Regions from separate parts of the Homo sapiens genome. Here region 2 is linked to region 1. Evidence: promoter capture Hi-C in 16 types of primary human blood cells and fetal thymus (Javierre and others, 2016). All regions are on one chromosome and are shown on one strand. The core of a region is centred on a gene start or on the middle of the fragment in contact, and the rest is flanking DNA. Distances in the headings are between cores, read along the strand shown. Region 1 holds the start of LOH12CR2 (loss of heterozygosity on chromosome 12, region 2). Region 2 holds the start of MAGOHB (mago homolog B, exon junction complex subunit).

What was found. Contacts are between HindIII fragments. The CHiCAGO score rates a contact against its expected background, and 5 or more counts as called.
Region 2: a fragment that was not itself captured here is called in contact with the fragment with the promoter of LOH12CR2 in region 1 in 1 of 17 cell types (total B cells); the score reaches 5.6 in total B cells.

What each region holds. Positions count from the first base shown.
Region 1 is chr12:12,354,812-12,360,353 of GRCh38, reverse strand. LOH12CR2 (loss of heterozygosity on chromosome 12, region 2) reads left to right here and starts at 3,287. Exons shown (of 2, transcript NR_024061.1): 1 at 3,287-3,426; 2 at 3,549-4,946. It overlaps BORCS5 (BLOC-1 related complex subunit 5), which reads right to left and starts at 3,276. Exons shown (of 4, transcript NM_058169.6): 1 at 2,845-3,276. The coding sequence starts at 2,902. RefSeq lists enhancers at 1,847-1,926, 2,813-3,491 and a silencer at 2,867-2,946. The HindIII fragment of the contact is 7,691 bases long and covers 1-5,542 here.
Region 2 is chr12:10,613,029-10,618,570 of GRCh38, reverse strand. MAGOHB (mago homolog B, exon junction complex subunit) reads left to right here and starts at 4,962. Exons shown (of 5, transcript NM_018048.5): 1 at 4,962-5,132. The coding sequence starts at 5,039. RefSeq lists enhancers at 4,148-5,025, 4,842-5,241, 5,026-5,542. The HindIII fragment of the contact is 670 bases long and covers 3,958-4,627 here.

The sequences.
Region 1 (5,542 bases), core at 2,038-4,537:
AGCCTCGCTCTGTCGCCAGGTTGGAGTACAGTGGTGCAATCTCGGCTCACTGCAACCTCCGCCTCCTGGGTTCAAGTAATTCTCTTGCCTCAGCTTCCTGAGTAGCTAGGACAACAGGCATGCACCACCACATCTGGCTAATTTTTGTATTTTTAGTAGAGATGGGGTTTCACCATATTGGCCAGGCTGGTCTCGAACTCCTGACCTCGTGATCCACCCACCTCGGCCTCCCAAAGTGCTAGAATTACGGGTGTGAGCCATCACGCCCAGCCCATTACAGGATTATATAACATGAATGAACTTCTTTCATAACTAAATATTTTCTTTTTCAGCACACAAAAGTATAGGCAGATTGTTTTTACTTTCTCTTTAATTCTCCTGCTATCTTGAGATATATATATATATCTCCCTATTTCTAAAATGAGAAATAAAGGGTACAAAATTTAACTGTGACTTGCCCAAAGTCAGCAGTGCTAGACAGTTAGGAAAGGAATTAGACATCTACAAGTTATTGGTACACAAGGCCCATCTCTGCGACACTGGAGTTGCAAAGCTGTCTATCCACCCTACCACATCAAGCCAGCTATGTTTAGTAAGTCCAGGAAAAAAACCTGTTCTCAACCCCCGAATGACTGGCCTATTCCCGAGGCTTCAGCCTCCTCACTCTTTTTTTTTTTTTTTTAAGTCAAGGCGGCTGGGCACGGTGGCTCACGCCTGTAATCCCAGCACTTTGGGAGGCCAAGCCAGGTGGATCACTTGAGGTCAGGAGTTCGAGATCAGCCTGGCCAACATGGTGAAACCCTATCTCTACTAAAAATACAAAAATTATCCAGGCGTGGTGGCATGTCCCTGTAATCCCAGCTACTTGGGAGGCTGAGGCAGGAAAATTGCTTGAATCCGGGAGGCGGAGGTTGCAGTGAGCCAAGATCATGCCACAGCACTCCAGCCTAGGTGACAGTGAGACTGTCTCAAAAAAAAAAAAAAAAAAAGAGTCAAGTCTCACTACATCGCCCAGGCTGGATTTAAACTCCTGGGCTCCAGCAATCCTCCCACCTGGGCCTGAGTAGCTAGGACTACAGCCCCCTCACTCTTAAAATTATAGCATTAGTCCAGGGCAAAAATAGCCAGTAAGTCCATTCTAGGCTGAGGCAAAAATCAGAAATTTGGAGGACAAAGAGGGAGATCAATTCAGGTTCCTTGGGAGAAAGTAATCCATTTGGAGGGAAGTGATTCAAATTATAAAGGACTCCCTAGACCAAGAAATCATCCTCTCCCCCAAATATCTTCCAGACTGGGACAAGAATGAATCTTTAAAGTGTTTTATGCTCTAGAAGGTAATATTCCCAGGCTCATTATAGTCATATCTCAAAGGTTAATCCAGGGATGCCATAGAACTGTTCTGCCTCCTAGAAGCTCGTCTCCGGAGGCTTGGCATTCACTCTTCTAGAAAAATCTCTGCTGCTTTTATTTCTTTTCAAGAAATATTTATTTACCTGTTTTGGTAATTTACCTAACATTTTACAAAAGCCATGCCAGAAATCTTTCCTGCTATAAATTGTGATTCCTCCTTCCCCAGATACCAGAGGAAAGGGGACTTCAAAACACTCTAGCTAACCTCTACTACTTTATCTGTAAAATGGGATTACTGCAAAAATTATATGTAAATGTATGTAAAGTACCGGGCACAGGGGAATAGGCAAATTCTAACATCGGAAATGCTCGAATGCTGTTGGTTCATGGGCAAGAAAACAAATTAAAAAGATGCCACACCGCTTCCCCCTAAAATATGTTTCTGCCCTGCCATAGAGGCAAGAATGTCAAAGGTGGCAATTATTATATTTCTTATAACAGATATGACACTCTGGCCCTTCCAAGGAAATAGAAAAACGTAGCAAAGCTAGTAGATGCTGCTCACCATTCAAAGCTGCCCCAATCCAGTCCCCAGAATGTAGGTCTGAACTAGTCTTGAAAGTCACACCTTAAAGTGAAACACCCTTAGATCTATTAGCTTGCCTATTTCTGAATTACAGCTCCTATCAAGAACAGAGAACTTCTAAAATCGGCGACTCTTTTTAGGCCCCAGATTTAACCAATTTGCGTTAGCAACCCCGGAGCTTAACCAAAGCACTCCCAGCTGTCCTAGCGTGTGGGTAACAAAAAAAGCAGCAAATGGTCCTCAATTAAACATCAGCTGCTTTATCTATTTATTGAACACTCACTGTATTGCAAACACAATAATCCTCCCATTCTTGTCTCAAACGCTTAGAGAAGTCTAAAAATCATGGACAGAGAACAACAATGGAAAACACCAGTGCCTGCTGTCTGGCCAACCTCTACAAGATTAGAAAACGGACCAAGACACCTTCTGAGAAGAAAAAGCTGTTTCTGGAGACCTTTGCACTAAAGGGTTCAAAGCAAGTGGACACCTATCACATATCCCTTCAGAAAAGGAACCTCTAACACCCGTTTTTAAGAAACAGACTGTTCTTAGAGGTCCTATAATCCATCCACTGTGTGAGCCAAATCTCACTACATCAGCCATGAGCACTAGAGCCAAAAATTAATTAGCTCGTCTTTTAAACAGGAGGCTGTAGCTGGGAGAAACGGCTGTTTTGAAAATAAATAAGGGCACTGGCGCCCACGCTGGCTTAGCTTGCAGTCACACGCACTTCCATCAGGGGAATCGAGGCCAGGACAGATGGTGACTTTTTTTTTTTCCTACTAGCACGGTGAAGGCTTTTTCTGTGCGTTCCCGTCCGCAGTCCCTGACCCTAGTCTGGGAGGCAGCCCGCTCTGCAAGGGGACAGGGCGGGCTGGAGGAGGGTGGGAGGTTAGGACACCGACCTGAGGAGTTCAGATCGTTGGGTCGGCTCTCGGCCTCGGAGCTCTGCTCACTGCCCATGGTGCCGACAGCGGTGGCAGCAGAAGAACGGCGGGCCGGGCGGTCACCGCTCCGGCGGCGGGCGACAGGGCAGGGGCCAGGGACCGGGACGGGGAGGCAAAGCAGAGTCTGGGCGCCGCAGCGAGGCTAATGTGTGGGGCTGACGCGTCCAGCCCACGCAGGGGCCTGGGCGGCGGGAGAAGGAGAGGCCCTATTTGGGGAACAGAAACGCAAGGAGGCGCGGCGCGAACGCACGCGGCTAGCCCTCCTTCTTTCCGGGAGCCCTAAGAGAACCGGCAGATGACACTGGCTTTGCCGCACCTGCGGCCGGCGGGCGGCGCCGCTTTCACTCACTGGTTCACGCTCCGCAAGCTCGCTCCTTCCGGGACGCAGATGGGCGGTGCCGGCTACGCAAGACCTTCAGTTCCGGATTAGGAGGCCCCGCCCCCCGGCCCGAGGGAGGGGCGGAGAGACCCGCTCCTGCGACTTAGGGCGATGCCACCTTAAAGGGCTTGACCTCCTCGAAGCCAGAACTGCGGAAGAGGGTAAGCCCTTTCCTGTTGTAAGGATGCGTCACCTTTAAAACACCACCCACACTATTAAGCTCTTCAATACCCACATGTGAGAACAACTTTACAAAATAGGTATTTTTAACCCTGTTTTACAGATGGAGAAAGAAACGCTAGATAGACCCAGGATTCGAACCCACAACAGCTTGGATGCAAAGCTCATTTTGAATTCTGAAGAGCTGGGAGTTTAGCAGTGGACGACCAAACAAAAAAATACCAGAAGACGGTGAAAGCAGCAGCTGGAAATGAGAGAAAAATTAAGAAATAGAAAATGCTGTTTCATGTATTAGGGAGTGCACATCTTTAAAGAGAAGTGAAGAACCTTTTTGGCTAGGCGCTTTCTGGGGACCTTGGCAGTTATCAACAAGTCACTCTGAAACTAACAGAAGGTGAGGAGGGAGTAATCCAGAAAGGAAACTGCCATTTTTGCTAGGGCAAGAAAGTAGACCTAGCAATGCAATGCCATCAAGGAGTTAGCTGGCTCTAGCGTTCTCCGAACTTTGCAACTCATTTTATATTACATTGTCTGCGTCAAGAAATTTCAAGTAAATGCCTTGAGATTTTATATGTATAAAATGTAGTCTCTGGCCAGGCGGGGTGGCTCACGCCTGTAATCCCAGCACTTTGGGAGGCTGAGGCGAGTAGATCACGATGTCAGGAGATCAAGACCATCCTGGCTAACATGGTGAAACCCCGTCTCTACTAAAAAATACAAAAAATTAGCCGGGCATGATGGTGGGCGCCTGTAGTCCCAGCTACTCGGGAGGCTGAGACAGGAGAATGGTGTGAACCCGGGAGGCAGAGCTTGCAGTGAGCCGAGATCGCGCCACTGCACTCCAGCCTGGGCGACAGAGCGAGACTCCGTCTCAAAAAAAAAAAAAAAAAAAAAAGTCTCAGAAGAAGTGTCAAGTTGACTAAATGATTTTTAAGTCCCTTCCACTCTACTATATCACAATAATTTCCCCTATTTTACCTTATTTAATTTTCACAACAACCCTGCAGCCTGTAAGTAGGTGACTCCTCCATGGTCAGCAGGTGGTCAGTGGTCGAACTATTTAGGACTATCTGATGCTCTTTCCTCTGCTCACCATTGCAATACAATGAGAAAAATGCAAATGAATCTAAGTACAGTGTTCTCTGGGAATATGAAGATAGAACTAAAAACTGCCTGAGAGATCAGGGCAGGCTTCTAGAAAGTTGTGTCTAACTAGTCTTGAGGTTTACATAAACCACACCAGGCTGATGGGACTGGGAAGGGCCCACTAAGCAGTGAGACCATTCCCTTTTGGAGAGTCCTTGCATCCCCTCCCAGATTTCCTCTTTGAGGGGAAGGTGAGAGAGGAGGTAAAAGGGGTGAGGAATGGAGAATAACTCATTCTGGTTCTTGTTTCCCCTTTTCCACATAAAAGTATATTTGTCTTGTGTTCCATACACCAGTCCATACTGATGTGATGGTGTTTTTTATGCTTCCTTTTGAATAAACATTTCATTCTTAAAAGGATAGTCTGTCGCATCAACTGATGAATGGATAAATAAAGTGTGGTAATCATGGAATATTTATTCAGCCAAAATGAGGGAAGGATGAAATCATACTGATACATGCTACAACATAGAGTAACCTTGACAACATTATTCAATATGAAAAAGGCCTGTCAGGCCGGGTGCGGTGGCTCACGCCTGTAATCCCAGCACTTTGGGAGGCCGAGGCGGGCGGATCACGGGGTCAGGAGATTGAGACCATCCTGGCTGACAAACTGAAATCCTGTCTCTACTAAAAATACAAAAAAAATTAGCCGGGCGTGGTGGCGGGCGCCTGTATTTCCAGCTACTCAGGAGGCTGAGGCAGGAGAATCGCTTGAACCCAGAAGGCGGAGCTTGCAGTGAGCAGAGATCGCACCACTGCACTCCAGCCTGGGCGACAGAGCGAAGACTCCGTCTCAAAAAAAAAAAAAACAAAGCGTATCACAAAAGACCACATATTGTAGATTTCATTTATATGAAATGTCCAGGAGAAGCACTACAGAGAGAGAAATATGTTAGTGTTGCCTAAGGCCGAGGAGGGGTACGGGTGGAAGGGAAATGTAGACTATTA
Region 2 (5,542 bases), core at 3,043-5,542, 1.7 Mb after region 1:
AATGAGTCAGCTAAAGGAATAATGATTCTTGCCGCTGTAAGAATACCACAATGACTAGTCAGGATTTAAATGGGTAGCAAGTTGCAGTAGGGAGAAGGGCAGAAGAGTGGCTTCACACAAAATTACAAAGTCCTATGGAATCCCATTGTTGCCTCTCAGCTGTTCAGTTAAGTCAAAATTACAAATATTTACTTATTTATCTGATCACTGAAAAATATTGAGTGTTAAGGCTTGCTGTGCCAGACACTTGGCTAGGTGTAGGATAAAAGAAATAGGGAGCTTTTGATTACAGTCTAGAAGGTGAGACACATTATACATTTATTTGTGTGGGTATCTGTTAAGTGCGAAGTGTTAAGTGCTATAAAGAAAAAGCATAGGGTAGTAGAAGGGAGTTTAAAAGGAACACTTCCCTGAACAGAAATGGGCTATAAACTGAGACCTTAGGGATGGGTAAGTAACCCAGGCCGAATAAGAAGAGTCTCCCAGGAGGAGGACATGTGTGCGTGAAAATTCTGAGGCAAGGAACTGCAAGAAAGCATATGGGTTGCAGCACGGTGAGCTAAGGGAAAGTGGAACACAGTGAAATGGAAGGTTGCTTTGTTGTACTGTCATATTTCTTTTAGTAGGAGGGAAAGAAGCAGACAATTGATATTTAAGTTTTTTACCCCCAATTTTATTTGTTTTTCCGGCCCGGAAAACTGGATACAGTAATTTTTACTCTAAGAAAACTGGGTCTTTCTCTCACTTGGCCAGGCTTCTTCCAGAAGGAGGATGATATTTCTGGCATCATTGACCTTTCAGCCAAACTAGGTGTTTCCAAGCTAATGAATGAAAAAAAGAATCAAAATATTTATCATTTAATCGGGTTGACTCTAGATAGATTTTGTTGTATTGTTTTGATTGCCTTCTCTTCCAGTCTTGTTTTTCCAATCTATGCTTTATTGTTAAAAAAAAATTCCAACACTTAGGAACAACGCAAACACCCACCTAGATACAGTGTCTAAGGGAAACTTGGTAACGTCGTTTAAAATAGAATAGTCTGAACCAGTAGTTCTTAAATTATGCTTATGGAGCACACTATGTTTTTTTATGCCAGATTTAGGTATTCTGTTATTAAAATCAAATAATAGTAGTGGGTTTTTTTTTAGCATTTTAAAACAAAAAAAGTCAGTTAATTAAGATTTCTTAATCTTAACTCTGTTGCAATAATTTTTTTAAATTTTGCTTTAACACTCTTACTGAAATAAATAAGTAGCAAATACAGTGGAAGACTGGAAGATATCCTATTACCCTTAATTTAGCATACTGTGTTTACCCGTTTTGGGGAAAAGAGTTAGAGATTATGCTATGTGTTTGAAGCATATAATATTGTCATTTGCTGGAAAAAAATTTTAGATTGAACAATCGAATTAAATATATCATGTCATGGTAATCTAGAAGTAGCTCCAAGTTCTCGCCATATATGAACATATGTGATAACGAATGGTGTGGAAAGTTTGGTGTTTCTGCATGATCATGATTCTCTTACTTAAAAAGTTAATACCACTAAGTGGTAAAAAGACAGATAAGGCTAACGTCCACAGGGAAGTCTATTATGGAAAAGAGAAGAGCAAGGTGGGTGGATGAATTAAAAATTAAAATACTACCTCATTCTGAGTATTTTTTAAAATTTAAACCACATTATGCACTTATTCTTGACTTACTACTCTGATCCATTTATTAATAACTGAATGAGATAGCCCTGACATCTTTTCTTCTGTAAATACAAAATCAAATGAATCAGACGTTATTCATAAATTAAAAACATGAGACTATAATACCTAGTGCTTATCACAATAAACATGGAACATGTTTCTGAAAATTGGAAGTCAGAATGATTTGATCATTAAGCCCTAATTTCAGATGGAAATAAAACGTTTATTTCTTACCTACTTCACTTTGTGCTTTGAAATTTACCGCTGTGTTAGCAAAGGTGGAAACAGTATTTTGGCTTCACTTAAGCAGCTCAAATATTTATTTTCATAAGTAAACTGTGTTGATATCAGTAAGTACGTCCTAATTTGGAGCCTACAACAAGCAATTTGAAAATGTTCACAATTTTTTTTTTGCTATTTCTAGCCCAACTAAAAGTGTATGAAAAGATTCTAACTGTGCTGACCAACACAGTAGCTTCTAGCCACATGTGTTTATTTAAATGTTAATCTAAATTAATCACAATTAAGAATTCAGTTCGAAGTCACAGTAGTCACATTTCAAGGGCTCAGCAGCCATACAGAAGAACATTTCCACATCACTGTTGTGTACCATCCAAGAATACAACACAACGCAAATGCTTTATCACTTTGTAATTCTTGCTTCAATACAAAAGGTTCAAATTTTGGCTTAAAATATAGAGAGTTAAGTAAATATAGTTTCATATTTTATCTTACAAACAGGTAGGATTATAGTCTTGAACCCCTATGTCATTTTTGGAGATCAAGACAGTAACTGGCCCACTTAACAAAGATGTTAATACTTTGTGCATTCTGTAACCTCTATTTATATAGTTACACATTCTGGTATCCATAGTTCTATTTAGGTAAACATGAAGATGAACATTGGCACATGTGCCAAAAACCTGAAGGAGAGACATTAGGGAATCTAAGATATTGAATGAGGCTTTCCATATAATTCAACAAAATGGATTACAGCTGATATTTCCAGAGATACTACGGAATAGAGTGTTCAAATTTCTGTGAATTATTCTTGTGGTAAGTGTGGTGACCAACCCATCTCAGTTTGCCTGGGTGTTTCCAGGTATGGAAAGTCCCATTTCCCAGGAAACTCCACAGTCCTGGTCAAACTGGAACGGCTAGTCACCCTAGTGGTAAAACATGGTGCTTCCTGTTTCTTACGTACTTTCCAAAATGGTGGCCCATTGTAGGGACTGATTCATTTTTCTATATTAATAGTTATATAACTACTAATATGGACTCAAGGAAACGTGGCCCAATTTGCCTTTTTAGTCATTCTACTTGAACCTTATGCTCTAGCTATACCGAATTTCTTAGTGTTCCCCAAACATGAATTTTCACACCACTGTCTTTGCTCGGGTCATTTTCTGCCTGGAATGCTTTTTCATCCCACTGAACATACACAGAACTTACTTCTCAAGGTCCAATTCAAACACTTCCGTTGACAAGCCTTTTCCAATACTCTTTTTTCAAATTTCCCTACTCTGCAATAGAATGCTCTTGCTTCCTCTGCTGTACTACCGGCATGTTTTACACACTTTTTTTTTTTTAGACGAAGTTTCGCTCTTGTCACCCAGGCTGGAGTGCAACTGCGCGATCTCCGCCTCTCGGGTTCAAGCGATTCTCCTGCCTCAGCCTCCTGAGTAGCTAGGATTACAGGCACGTGCCACCAAACCTGGCTAATTTTTGTATTTTTAGTAAAGACAAGGTTTTGCCATGTTGGCCAGGCTGGTCTTGAACTCCTGACCTCGGGTGATTTGCCCCCTTTGGCCTCCCAAAGTGCTGGGATTACAGGCATGAGCCACTGCGCCCGGCCACATATAGGCTTTCTTTTCTTTTTCTTTTTTTTTTTTTTTTTTTTTTGAGACAGAGTTTCGCTCTTGTTGCCCAGGCTGGAATGCAGTGGCACGATCTCAGCTCACTGAAACCTCTGCCTCCAGGGTTCAAGCAATTCTCCTGCCTCAGCCTCCCGCGTATCTGGTATTACAGGCACGCGCCACCACGCCCAGCTAATTTTTTTGTATTTTTAATAGAGACGGGGTTTCACCATGCTGGCCAGGATGGCACATATATTCTTAATTATAGCAATTGCTCCCTTGTGCTGGTATTCGCCTTACGTGTTTGCTTTCTTTTCTAGACTACCAGATCAAATGGCTTATTTCTAGTTTCAAACTGTCACATAGGAAATGTTTGTTAAAACTAATGTTTTATAAAATTTAAAGCTTATTTTACATATTATCTCATTAGATCTCTCAAGAATTCTGTGAGCTTGGCAATGTAGATTGCTGTATATGCATTAGGCTGATGAACAAACAGGCTTAGAGATAGTCACTTGCCCGAGGTTAGTTAGCTGTTAAGTGTTGGGATTGAATCCCAGGTCTTCTCTCCACCACTTTCTACTAAAAATCACTGAAGGTTGTCAACCGACAGATAGGATTACTCTGTGTGTTGATAACAAAAGGGTGATCAATAATATCTGAAAAGGAAACTTTGTGTAAAAGTCTTTCCCTTACCTTAAAAACTACGCCACACTGGAGCATTCTTTCATTCCCCCAATTTAATTCTATCTGGCGAGAAACAATAATGGGCTAAACCATTATTGTATCGTAAGTCAAATTGCCAAAACTTCACAGGCTACTAAAAGTTAACCCTTATTGAATGAATTAAGAACCTTAGAAGTTCTGCTGTTAAAAAAAGCACGGTGACTGTCAGGGTTTTTCAGGTGTGGGGGGTGTGAGGGTTTTAAGAGTTGGATTCCTTTGACTTTGTCTCTATTATTATAGGCTTAGAGGTCCCGGGTAACTACCAATCGCTATCCAAAGGGAAAGCACCCTGTTAGAAATTAAGTAAGAAAAATAGTTTATATTCCCGGTCTGCCATTTCGATTCTAAGCTTTATCTTTATTTAGCTCACAGTTAAAGGGGGCATAGAGCCACACCCACCTCACAAACGCCGCAAGGATTGGGAGACCAGAAAAGTAAAAGTGACTTGCAAACCTTTAGCTCTAAGTCCATAAAAAAGACTATCATATGCTCACATTTCTAATCTTTGCTAGTATAATGTAATCTTTATTTTGAAAACAATGTGCCTCCATTCCTAGTAAAGCGAAAGTCACGGCGCTGCGACCCTCCCTTCAGCGCCTCCGGACTCTCACGCGATACTCGGCTTTCACGCTTTAGTCTAGGGCTGCACTGCAGGAGGAAGAGAAGCGCCTGTGGTGACGCACTTATTCCGCGCGATGACGTCACTGCAAGGCGCCGGGGGACACGTTGGCTGCGTTTTCGGCGGGCTTCCCGGGTACAAAAATGGCTGTGGCTAGCGATTTCTACCTGCGCTACTACGTAGGGCACAAGGGCAAGTTTGGGCACGAGTTTCTGGAGTTCGAATTTCGGCCGGACGGTGAGAAGAGGCCCACGGCACGCGGTGCTGGGAAAGGGGAGCGAGACCGAGAGGCCGGGTGGTGTGGAGGGTACAGGCGGCGGAGGCCACTGCTTCCCTCGAAGGAAATAGGAGCTTAAGAATAGAGGAGGCATAAGTTGGTTTTATAAATGAAAGAGAATTAATTGCAATAAATTAAAGCTAATCCTGTCACAAACTGAAAAGTTGAACCTACAGTAATCAGAATTCTGTAACAGTGCACCAGAAGGGACTCTAGATCGTCGCCCTGATTGAAAATGCTAGCACTTTTTTGAAAACACCCCCACCAGCGGGTGGTCCAGTGGATGAATAAAATCTTGTGGTGACCAGTACCTTTTTTTCATTTAGGCTGTGTGTTTTCTTTGAAGGGGAGGAGCCCAACGTGTTAACAA